Linked DNA regions of Homo sapiens: region 2 is linked to region 1. Evidence: promoter capture Hi-C in 16 types of primary human blood cells and fetal thymus (Javierre and others, 2016). All regions are on one chromosome and are shown on one strand. The core of a region is centred on a gene start or on the middle of the fragment in contact, and the rest is flanking DNA. Distances in the headings are between cores, read along the strand shown.

Region 1 (5,269 bases), core at 869-3,368:
GGTGCCAGCATCTGGCAGGGGCCTTCTTGCCGCATCATAACATGATGGAAGGCATTACATGGCAAAAGGGCAAAGAGAGGGCAACAGGCGCACGCACACACACACACACACACACACACACACACACACACCACACAGAGACAGAGAGAGAGAGAGAGAAAGAAGAGGGCCAACTTTCCCACTTTTATAATGAACCCATTCCCCAGATAATGGCATTAATCCCTTTACTCTGCCCTCATGGCCTATCACCTCTCATTAGTCCCTACCTTCCAACATTTTTACATTGGGGATTAAGTTCCCACACATGCCTCTGATAGCTGTGATATTTAAAATTGCCACTGAACATTTGACAAACATACTTGGTGAGTTTGAAGTCAGACTAAATAACAATAAGCCTCATGAGTGAGATTTTCCAAGGAACTATCAAACATGTCGAATAATAACAGTTGTCTGGCTTTGGAGTGGGTCAAATTCTGTTTTGTCCCCTCTACCAGTTGCTAAGTCACTATTTTTCACTGTGATTACTGTGGTTATCTAGGCTGACACGGGGCTGGGAGAAAAGTATAGGACTATGGCAAGTTAAAATGCCAAAAACCTTGCTGTTGTTACAAAAATCCAGCTGTTTTTCTTTAGTAAACACTCTACAAATTGTTGCAAGCCTTTGGTTAATTTCCAGAGTTCTGAAAAAGTCGATATTGATGATTTTTGCCACTGTTCTTGTTGATTTTATGGAGGAGAGGATTTCAGGCATAGATCCTATTTCACCATTCTGGCTGATGTCATCCCACTAAATCTTTATAAATTATTTATTTTACTAATAGCTGCACACATCTCTGAACCTCTCTCCAACTTAGCCTTCCCCTAAAAATGGAGATTAAAATTTAGCAGTGAGGCTCAGGTGGAAGCTTTTGAGCTAGTTGCCACAAAACATTATTTAACAACTATTAGGTAAATCTAAACCAGGTAGTGCAGAAATGCATATGCAGGAAAGTGAATGTGTGGGACTAATTGTGCTTTTCCAAAACTGGCCATGTTGGTACTGTTTCTTTCCTTTTACATGGCAAAAGTCCGCTGCTAACCTCATAAAACCTCCACTGCATAAATATCCACTAGTGAAGAATGACTGGCTGTCACTCTGCATCTGGTGCAGGGGGCACTATTGCTACAGAAGCTCGGGCAATGACATGAAGATACTTCAAATTGCCAAAGTTCTAGTTGTCACCATGACAACATTAATTGCTAATTTACAGACGTAAGAAACTGTTGTAGCTAGAATTGATAGAGTTCTTTAGAAGTCTATTTCTATTCCAAAATCAAATTGTTATAACAGGTCACCTGAATTACAGTACTTTATGTCACACGATTTTTTTTTAACTCTCTAAAAGCATTTGACTTAGAGAGAGACCTTATATTTACTTTAGAGAGGAGGAAATGGAGATATTTCCTTCAGAGACTTTTAGTAAAGACCAATCAGCAGGTTTGCAGAAGAGCCAAGCCTCTAAAGAGGTGACTTATATTTCCAAGAGATATTCCAATTCAATCAGTGAATAACAAACTTTAAGCGTGCGGGAAATTTAACAAAACCCAGACTCTCAGAGCTGCAACTGCGCAGTTTTAGGTCAGCTGGGGCTGGGGGTGGGGGTCTCTGATTTCCTATCTTTTCTCCACCCCTATTTCTGTAAACATTCTCCCACCCACTTCCACTCCCCGTTTCCCTCCTTCACCCATTCACCTGAGGGCAAGACGGCCTAACTTCACACAGAGCCCAAAGATGCTTATTGAGGATGCTTTCGACCTGGTGGAGTCCATTTCAAAAGGCAACTGAAGCCCTCATTCGGCATCCTCGCCTCTCACTCCATGCCGGGGGTCCAGAAACAATCCCTGTCCCTGGATAGGTCAGTTTAGCTCACCTGTACTTTCCTTCGCCCGTCCACAGCGCCGTCCAAACCGTACCAGCATCTCTGACGAGGTGTCCATGATGCTCCTAGATCTGGAAAAGTGACTGTGGCGCCAAGCGCCGCGGACGCCAGCCGGTGGAGTTGTTACTCGTACCACGCGGTTGCTTGGCAACGCCGCCGGAAGTGACGCCAGCCGTAGCCGAGGAACAAGGGAGGTGCTGCAGTTGGCGGTCGGGCTAGAGAAGAGAGGCGCCTGCGCTTGCGAGCTGGGCTTGTGAGTGGGGCTGCCGAGAGGGCAGGCGTGGGGCGAGGCCAAAGGACTGAACCCGCAGGAGCGTCACGGGCGCCGGGGCGGCTGCCGACGGCGGGACTGGGTCAGTGAGAAGCCCGTGGGCCCCCGCCCTGCCTGCTACTCCCATCCCCACCTGCGCGCTCCCCATGGGGGACGACCCCCGATTGGGTCCGATGCCTACCCTCGGGGTGGAGCCGGCAGGTGTGTGAGCGCGCGAGGCCTAGGCGTGGTGTGTGCGTCCGCAGATCTCCTCGCGGGTGGAGTGTGAGGAGCAAAGCCCTCCCTTAACTATAAAAACCCGCGGATTCGCTGACATAAACGCTGTTTTTTTAATCCTTTGGTTTCTGAGGCATGGTCAGGACTAGATGGGGCCAAGTTTTTTAAAAATAGGAATGTTAAAACGTAATGATATGCTTAGAATATTTACGTTAGGACCTTTGAGATATTTTAAATTTCTTGGTAAATACATGACCACAGAAATCTGTTAGGAGTAGCTGCGCGTTTGGTTTCAAAAGATGCTTTTCTAACACATTGATGTACAGATAACTTCATTACTAACAAGTTGGCTCTGACGTGTACACATAATGCACCAAATTGGAGTCTCTCAAAATGAAAGAACAAAAAGATTTTTAATAACGAATGTTCTAACACATAGTCGTGCTATTTTTCTTTAGGTTTTCTATCAGATGTTCCACGTAATAATGCTGGTAAGTATGGAATAATTAAGAAAATATTTGAAGACAGAAATTAGTTTGTGCACATACAGCGCTGGTAGGTTTTTGGAACTATACCTTAAAAAGTGTCAAGAACTGGGGGCCAGGCGCGGTGGCTCACGCCTGTAATCCCAGCACTTTGGGAGGCCGAGGCGGGCGGATCACGAGGTCAGGAGATCGAGACCATCCTGGCTAACACGGTGAAACCCTGTCTCTAGCAAAAATACAAAAAAATTAGCCAGGCGTGGTGGCGGGCGCCTGTAGTTCCAGGTACTCTGGAGGCTGAGGCAGGAGAATGGCGTGAACCTGGGAGGCGGAGCTTGCAGTGAGCCGACCATCGTGCCACTGCACTCCAGCCTGGGCGACAGAGCGAGACTCCGTCTCAAAAAAAAAAAAAGTTTCAAGAACTGGGAAGGAACAGAGATTTTTACCCTGTTTGCAGGCTAACTTAGCCTGGCAGTTTCATGGAAGACACAAGACTATTCATTTCAGGAATGAATTACTCCCAGCAGTAGCCAGTAAATCAGCAATTTCGCCTGAGTTCCCTAAAGCCCCAGTTCCCACAGGATAATGCAAAGTGGGCAAGAAGTCACCTAGATGTAGTGTGTGTCGAATTACAGGAAAGGAGCCCTGAGCTTAGGGAACCCAGATCTTTATCATTTGGACAAATAAGCATGTTTCTCAAGGCTGTCCAGTGTACAAACATCCTTGAGACAATAGTCTAGAGGAAAGGGCAGTCAGTAAGACATGCAGAACCACCAGAGACGCAGGGAAAATTGTCTCCCAACAACAATTTTCTGGAATTTTAACAAAATTGGTTACAAAAGTATTGAATCTCATGATTTGATGTCAGTTACTTGCCAATTTGACATGGTGGTCAGATATAATTTGACTTCAGACTCGAGATTCCAGCTCCAACCTGTGGATTGTCACAACCAAGTCAATCTAGAGTTATTTGTCCTATACCCACCACTCTTTTATTTCTTTGTTGTGAATTTAATAAGGTAGCATATGCACTCTGATCTGAAACAGAGTTTAAATTATTCTGAGAAGAAAAAAATTTTATTACAAAATTGATGTAGAAAAAGTGTGAACTACGGTTGAACCAACCATAACCATCCCACTGCACATGTAAACATTTTCTAAAACAAAAACAGGATTATACTGTACACACTATTTTGTGACTTGCTTATTTAATTTGAACTGAATATCTTGGCTTTTACTGGCTGGATATTCTGTTATTTGCTATCACATGCATATCTTACTTAATTATTTCCCAATTCTTGGATGTCTGTGTAGTTTTTAATTTTCATTATTGTGTAAAGTATGCAGGATATTGTTACACTATGGAAACATTGCAGACATACCAAATAGACATAGATTGTGCTTTTGAAGAGAACAGTTAACTTTTTGGAATTTTAACAAATTGGTTTCAAAACAGATTCACATTCTTAAAACTAAATCTTTGTTCATATTCTTAATTTTTGGAGACATTTTAATTTCTAGTACAGCACTAAATGTCTATTGACAACAGAATGTGGAACTCCTCTATTATTAAACAAGTACAAAGAAAAAATGGACTCTGAAAATCTCAATCAGCTTAACACTGATTTTATCCACTGGACAAAAACTTATTTTCACATAACATTTCTTATTTTCGACACCAAGTCGATACCAAGTGGAAAGCAAAACTTTGTTCTCCTATTGCCAAAAGATGCTTTTCTGACATTAGAAAAACAACATAATTAGAAAATACAAAAAAAAAAATTTTTTTTTTTTTGACACGGAGTCTCGCTCTGTTGCCCAGGCTAGAGTGCAGTGGCGCGATCTCGGCTCACTGCAAGCTCCGCCTCCCAGGTTCATACCATTCTCCTGCCTCAGTCTCCCAAGTAGCTAGGACTACAGGTGCCCGCCACCACGCCCAGCTAATTTTTTGTATTTTTAGTAGAGATGGGGTTTCACTGTGTTAGCCAGGATGGTCTCCATTTCCTGACCTCGTGATCCCCCGCCTCGGCCTTCCAAAGTGCTGGGATTACAGGCGTGAGCCACTGCGCCCGGCCTGAAAATACAAATGTTAAAGCTTTTAAAATACTTTTATTAATTTTAGGAGTTAAGAAGTTTCCATTATTTTGCTCCAAACCAGAAGACTCTGTTCCCTGTATATAGAATAGGAGTAATATTTGAAAACAACTGGCTGATGTTTAAAACTGAAGATTGTCATGATTGTTTATCCTAATCCCAATGCTGAAGTAAGATTGTCTTGGAAATACTAAGTTGGGTAAGTATTTTTTAAAGGTTTATGTTGAGTGGTGAGAAAATACTAACAGAAAAAGATGGGAAAATTTTAAAAGTGCACTTTCAGATCA
Region 2 (4,948 bases), core at 1,232-3,731, 38 kb before region 1:
TTCAATCATAGAGAATAATCATTGAGAATATAGTTAAATAAATCATACTCTCAATTACATGAGATGTGATTCAAATAATATAATCAATAAGTAGGTGGGGGAAAGCAGAATATGTAACATTACATAGTATATTCCAATTTCACAAATACATGTAAGTACAACTTTATAATGTATAAATGACTGGAAGAAATGTGTCAAATGTTAACAGTAGTTATCCCTGGGGTATGAGATAATAGGTAACTTTTATATCTTCTTAATGCTTTTCTGTATTTCTCTTCAAGTATCTCATGTCTTTAAAGTATACAATTTAAAATAATTGTATAAGAAAAAATACACCAAATATATATATATAATATAAAGTTCATTTAATGTTTGAATAGTCATATGGTTCAAAAACCAAAAATGTTTTTTTACATACACAGTGTAGCGAGCGTCCTTCCACTCCATCCACTATGTCTCTTCCTAATCCTCCCTCCAGACTCAAATCACTATTGCTAGTTTCTTGTCCAAACTTTGCTTTTGCATACATATAAGAAAAAACAGATATGTATTCTAACAAAAATTGTAAAAGTAGGTCACTAGTATTTAAAACAAAAAGTAAAATCTGTTCATATTAGCATATGTTCTATGATCTCAGCCTGAGTTAGCCATCATAAAAACAGATGCCATTGAGCACAATAGCCTGAATATATAGATATATTAGTATATTCTGTTATTTAGACAGGGTGTCTGTTGCCCAGGGTGCAGTGGCATGATCACAGCTCATGAAAGCCTTGAACTCTGGGGCTCAAGGGAAACTCCCACCTCAGCCACCAGAGTAGCTGGGGCTACAGGCACGAGCCACCGTGCCTGGCATATTCTGTTATTATGTAAGTAGAAACCAATTCAAGGTAAAAGTTGTTAGGGGCATCACTTAATCTTCCAATATATTTATAACTCAGGGTCTACTATGTGCCCAGCACTCTTAACTAATCTCCTATTTTATGGGTTAATTTTAAAAGCCTGTAATCTGGATAGGAAATATATTGGTCAATATGATCAATATGAAAAACTAAAGCAAACAGCAAACTGTTAAAAGTGTTTTGGATAATTCCTTACATGTTTTATTTTGCTGTTTTCTCCAAGTTTATTCTAATATTCACAAAGACTTTTTATAATACAAAAAATACAGATTTGATTAACACAGAGTTAATTCTCATTTTTCAATATTGAAAGCTTAAGCTCAAGGTCATATAGCCAGTAAATGGCAGAGTTAGCATTAAAAACTAGGTCTGTCCTACTCCAAGCCTACTTGGAGACATAAAAATTATTCCACCCCTTAACCAATAATCAGATTTTAATGAAAACAATAACAACATTTCAAGTAAAAGTCTTAGGAATTAAAATTTTCATAGCTAAAATAAAAAAATTAATAGAAGACTTAGAATACAAAGTTGAAACTCAGTAGAACAAAAAGAAAACGGCAGAAACAATTAGTTGCCTAAGCTTCGTTAGCAGCAGGACCCAGATTTTATTCAGGGTAGAAATATGCTCAGCTGAAAGACTACATGTGCAGCTTTCTTTTCAGCCAGGTGTAACAAAATTATGACCAATGAGATTCAGGGAAAACTGTTAAGTGGGACTTCTTGGAAAATTCCTTAAAAGGAGAACAGCCTGGGCAACATACCAGAACCATCTCTACAAAAAAGACCACAAAAATTAGACAGGTATGGCAGCACATGCCTGTAGTCCCAGCTACCAGGCAGGCTGAGGTGGGAGGATCACTTAAGCCCAGGAAGTCAAGGCTGCAGTGAGCCAACATCGTGCCACTGCACTCCAGCCTGGGAAACAGAGTGAGACCCTGTCTCAAAAAAAGAGGAAGAGGAAGAAGAGGAAGAAGAAGAAGGAGGAGAAGGAGAAGAGAGGAAGAGGAGGAAAAAGGAAGAAGAAAGAGGAAAGAGGAGGAAGAGGAGGAGGAGGATGAAGTAGAGAAGGAGGAGGACGAGGAAGAGAAGGAAGAGGAGGAAGATGAAGTAGAGAAGGAGGAGGAGGAGAAGGTGGTGGAGAAGGAGGTGCGGGAGGAGGAGGAGGAGGAGGAGGAGAAGGAGACAGGAAATAGAGTACTCCCTTTTGACCTTCATCCTTTCTTCTTTCTTGCTATCCAGAATGTGGAGATGAGGGCTAAAACTCCAGCAGCTATTCAGGGCCATGAGGCAAACTTGAGAACAGATGCCATCTATGTACAAAGAATAACAGAGTAGACCGGGCGTGGTGACTCACACCTGTAATCCCAGCACTTTGGGAGGCTGAGGCAGGCAGATCACCTGAGGTCAGGAGTTCAAGACCAGCCTGGCCAACATGGTGAAAACCCATCTCTACTAAAAACACAAAAATTAGTGGGGTATGGCGGTGGGTGCCTGTAATCCCAGCTACTTGGGAGGCTGAGGCAGGGAGAATTGCTTGAACCTGGGAGGCAGAGGTTGCAGTGAGCTGAGATCATGCCACTGCACTCCAGCCTGGGTGACAGAATAAGACTCCATCTCAAAAAAAAAAAAAAAAAAAAAAAGAACAGAGTAAAAAAAAAAGAGAAGAAGGTGTCGAAGGTGTCTTAGTCCCTGTTAATTCTATAGCTGCCATTACCAGACACCCCTGCACTTTAAACCTGTATATTATTTTGGGTTTTCTATCACATGCATTTAAGCCTTCTCTTAACTAATGAGAAAAGATTCTTAGACATTAGAGCATTATTTCAAAAAATCCAATGTCTATCAGAGGGATTCTAGAACAATAGAAAGATAAAATGGGAGGGGACAAAATTATCTAAGAAATAAAACAATAAAAGTTCTCAGGATGAAAGAAATATGTTTACAGAATAAAAGCATCAACTGAATGCCCAGAAAAATGAATGAAGGCACATAATTCAAGGCACATCTGTAAAATTTTGGAGCACCAGAGATAAAGACAGGACCCTAAAACCATTCGGACAGAAAGAAGAAAAAGAAAAAAAGAAAAATGGCTGGGCACAGTGGCTCATGCTTGTAATCACAGCACTTCAGGAGGCCAAGGCGGACAGATCACTTGAGGCCAAGAGTTCGAGACCAGCCTAGTCAACATGGCGAAACCCTGTCTCTATTAAAAGTACAAAAATTAGCCGGGTATGTGGCACATGCCTGTAATCCCAGCTACTCGGGAGGCTGAGGCACAGGAAGTGCTTAAGCCCAGGAGGCAGAGGTTGCAGCAGTGAGCCAAGATCATGCCACTGCACTCCAGCCAGGGAGGCAGGGTGAAACTGTCTCAAAACAAAATGAAACAAAAAAAAAATAAGAAAGAAAAGTAAAAATGATTACATATGTCAGATGAAGATCATCAATGGCATCATACTTTTCAGTAGCAATACTGGATGCCAGAGGAATATGAAACAATTAATACAAAATTCTGAATTCTGAACCCAGAATTCTATAACCAATCAAACTGTAAATCATGCATGACTTTAAAAGATAAGCTTTTCATACTATCATACTTGTCCTTAAAAAATAATAAAATAAATAAAAATGAGTAAAAAATAAACTTTTCAGATAATTAAAAAATTTTACCTCTCATACACCCATTCTTAAGGAAGCTATTCAAAGGTGTATTATAGCAAGACGAGGGAGTAAATCAAGAAAGAAAAAGACATAAGCTTCAGGAAATCAGAGATTTAGCCCTAGAAAGTAATATTCTATGCACACATCACAGTTTTTAATGTTAACAAAGGTGAAACACATAACATACACCCTTACAAAAAAGGTCAAAATGTAAAATTAAAACTTTAAACTCTTAAAAACTACAAAAAAGTTTGTGTTGGCTACCATTTGTACAACATATTTAAACATTTTCATTTTGTGGCAGCACATGAAAAAAGTGATAGTAGAAAATAAAGTCATTGGGGGTTTTCAAATAGCAGAATTGGCAGTTTTGCCATGTAGGAGAAGCAAATAAATATTAGTTTCCCCAAAATTCACATTTGAAAATATTTAGATAAAAGTCACAGAATTTTTCTCAGTAGAGACCCCAATAATTAGCTGCTGTAGGTTACCTGTTTGAAAGGACAATATCTCTTTAGAGTATAACTTTACTAATTTGGGTATAGAGAAGAAGTCTTAGGAATAAGAACATGATCTTAAAGGAGAGAAGAGGAACAGAGGAAGACATAAAAGCAAGAAAAATGTCATGGTAATTGCAATCACTAAAAAACTGTATTCTCAGTCAGTGCAGAATACTGTCTTCTGTCTACAACAGGTGCTTATTCCCGAACTGTTATTGCATCATGGATTTAATTTGCTTGGAGTTAGTCTGATCATTCAAATGTTTTATTGTGTACCGGAGAGCATTTAGAAGATATTTTACACTATTAGGAGGTTGGTCCTTAAGAACTCTGATACAGGCCAGTTGTGGTAGCTCATGTCTATAATCCCAGAACCATGGGAGGCCAAGGCAGGAGGACTGCTTGACCTCAGGAGTTGGAGACCAGCCTAGGAAACATAGCCCATCTCTATAAAAAATTTTTTAAAGTAGCCAGGCATAGTGGTGTATGCCTAGTCCCATCTACTCAGAATGCTAAGGTGGGAGAATCACTTAAGCCTGGGAAGTCAAGGCTTCAGTGAGCCGTGATCATGCCACTGCACTCCAGCCTGGGCAACAGAGCAAGACCCTATCTCAAAAAATAAAATAAATAAAAAATCAGGAAGATATGTTACCTTTGTCCACCAGATTGGGCTTTAAAAAAAAGAACTTGGTACAACCTTTCATACCAAGTTTGGAAGTTTTGGCAAATGCTCCCACTGAATATACTTAATCATAGAGTCTTATGATACCTACTGTATTAGTCCATTCTCAAATTACTATAAAGAACTACCTGAAACTGGGTAATTTATGAAGAAAAGAGGTTTAAATAGGCTCAAAGTTCCACAGGTTGTACAGGAAGCATGGC

Evidence for each region. The method cuts DNA at HindIII sites, captures the fragments that hold promoters and counts their contacts. A CHiCAGO score of 5 or more calls a contact.
Region 2: a fragment that was not itself captured here is called in contact with the fragment with the promoter of PHOSPHO2 in region 1 in 1 of 17 cell types (total B cells); the score reaches 6.2 in total B cells.

Annotation. Positions count from the first base shown.
Region 1 is chr2:169,692,351-169,697,619 of GRCh38, forward strand. PHOSPHO2 (phosphatase, orphan 2) reads left to right here and starts at 2,119. Exons shown (of 4, transcript NM_001008489.4): 1 at 2,119-2,272; 2 at 2,865-2,897; 3 at 5,011-5,181. CFAP210 (cilia and flagella associated protein 210) reads right to left here and starts at 2,055. Exons shown (of 9, transcript NM_001085447.2): 1 at 1,911-2,055. The coding sequence starts at 1,977. It overlaps PHOSPHO2-KLHL23 (PHOSPHO2-KLHL23 readthrough), which reads left to right and starts at 2,119. Exons shown (of 5, transcript NR_144936.2): 1 at 2,119-2,272; 2 at 2,865-2,897; 3 at 5,011-5,181. RefSeq lists an enhancer at 1,838-2,017 and a silencer at 2,148-2,427. The HindIII fragment of the contact is 4,078 bases long and covers 904-4,981 here.
Region 2 is chr2:169,654,443-169,659,390 of GRCh38, forward strand. All of the region lies in intron 5 of CFAP210 (cilia and flagella associated protein 210), which reads right to left. It also overlaps the pseudogene LOC100421474. Among named protein-coding and RNA genes, the nearest start is that of CFAP210, 37 kb to the right of the region's middle. The HindIII fragment of the contact is 1,996 bases long and covers 1,484-3,479 here.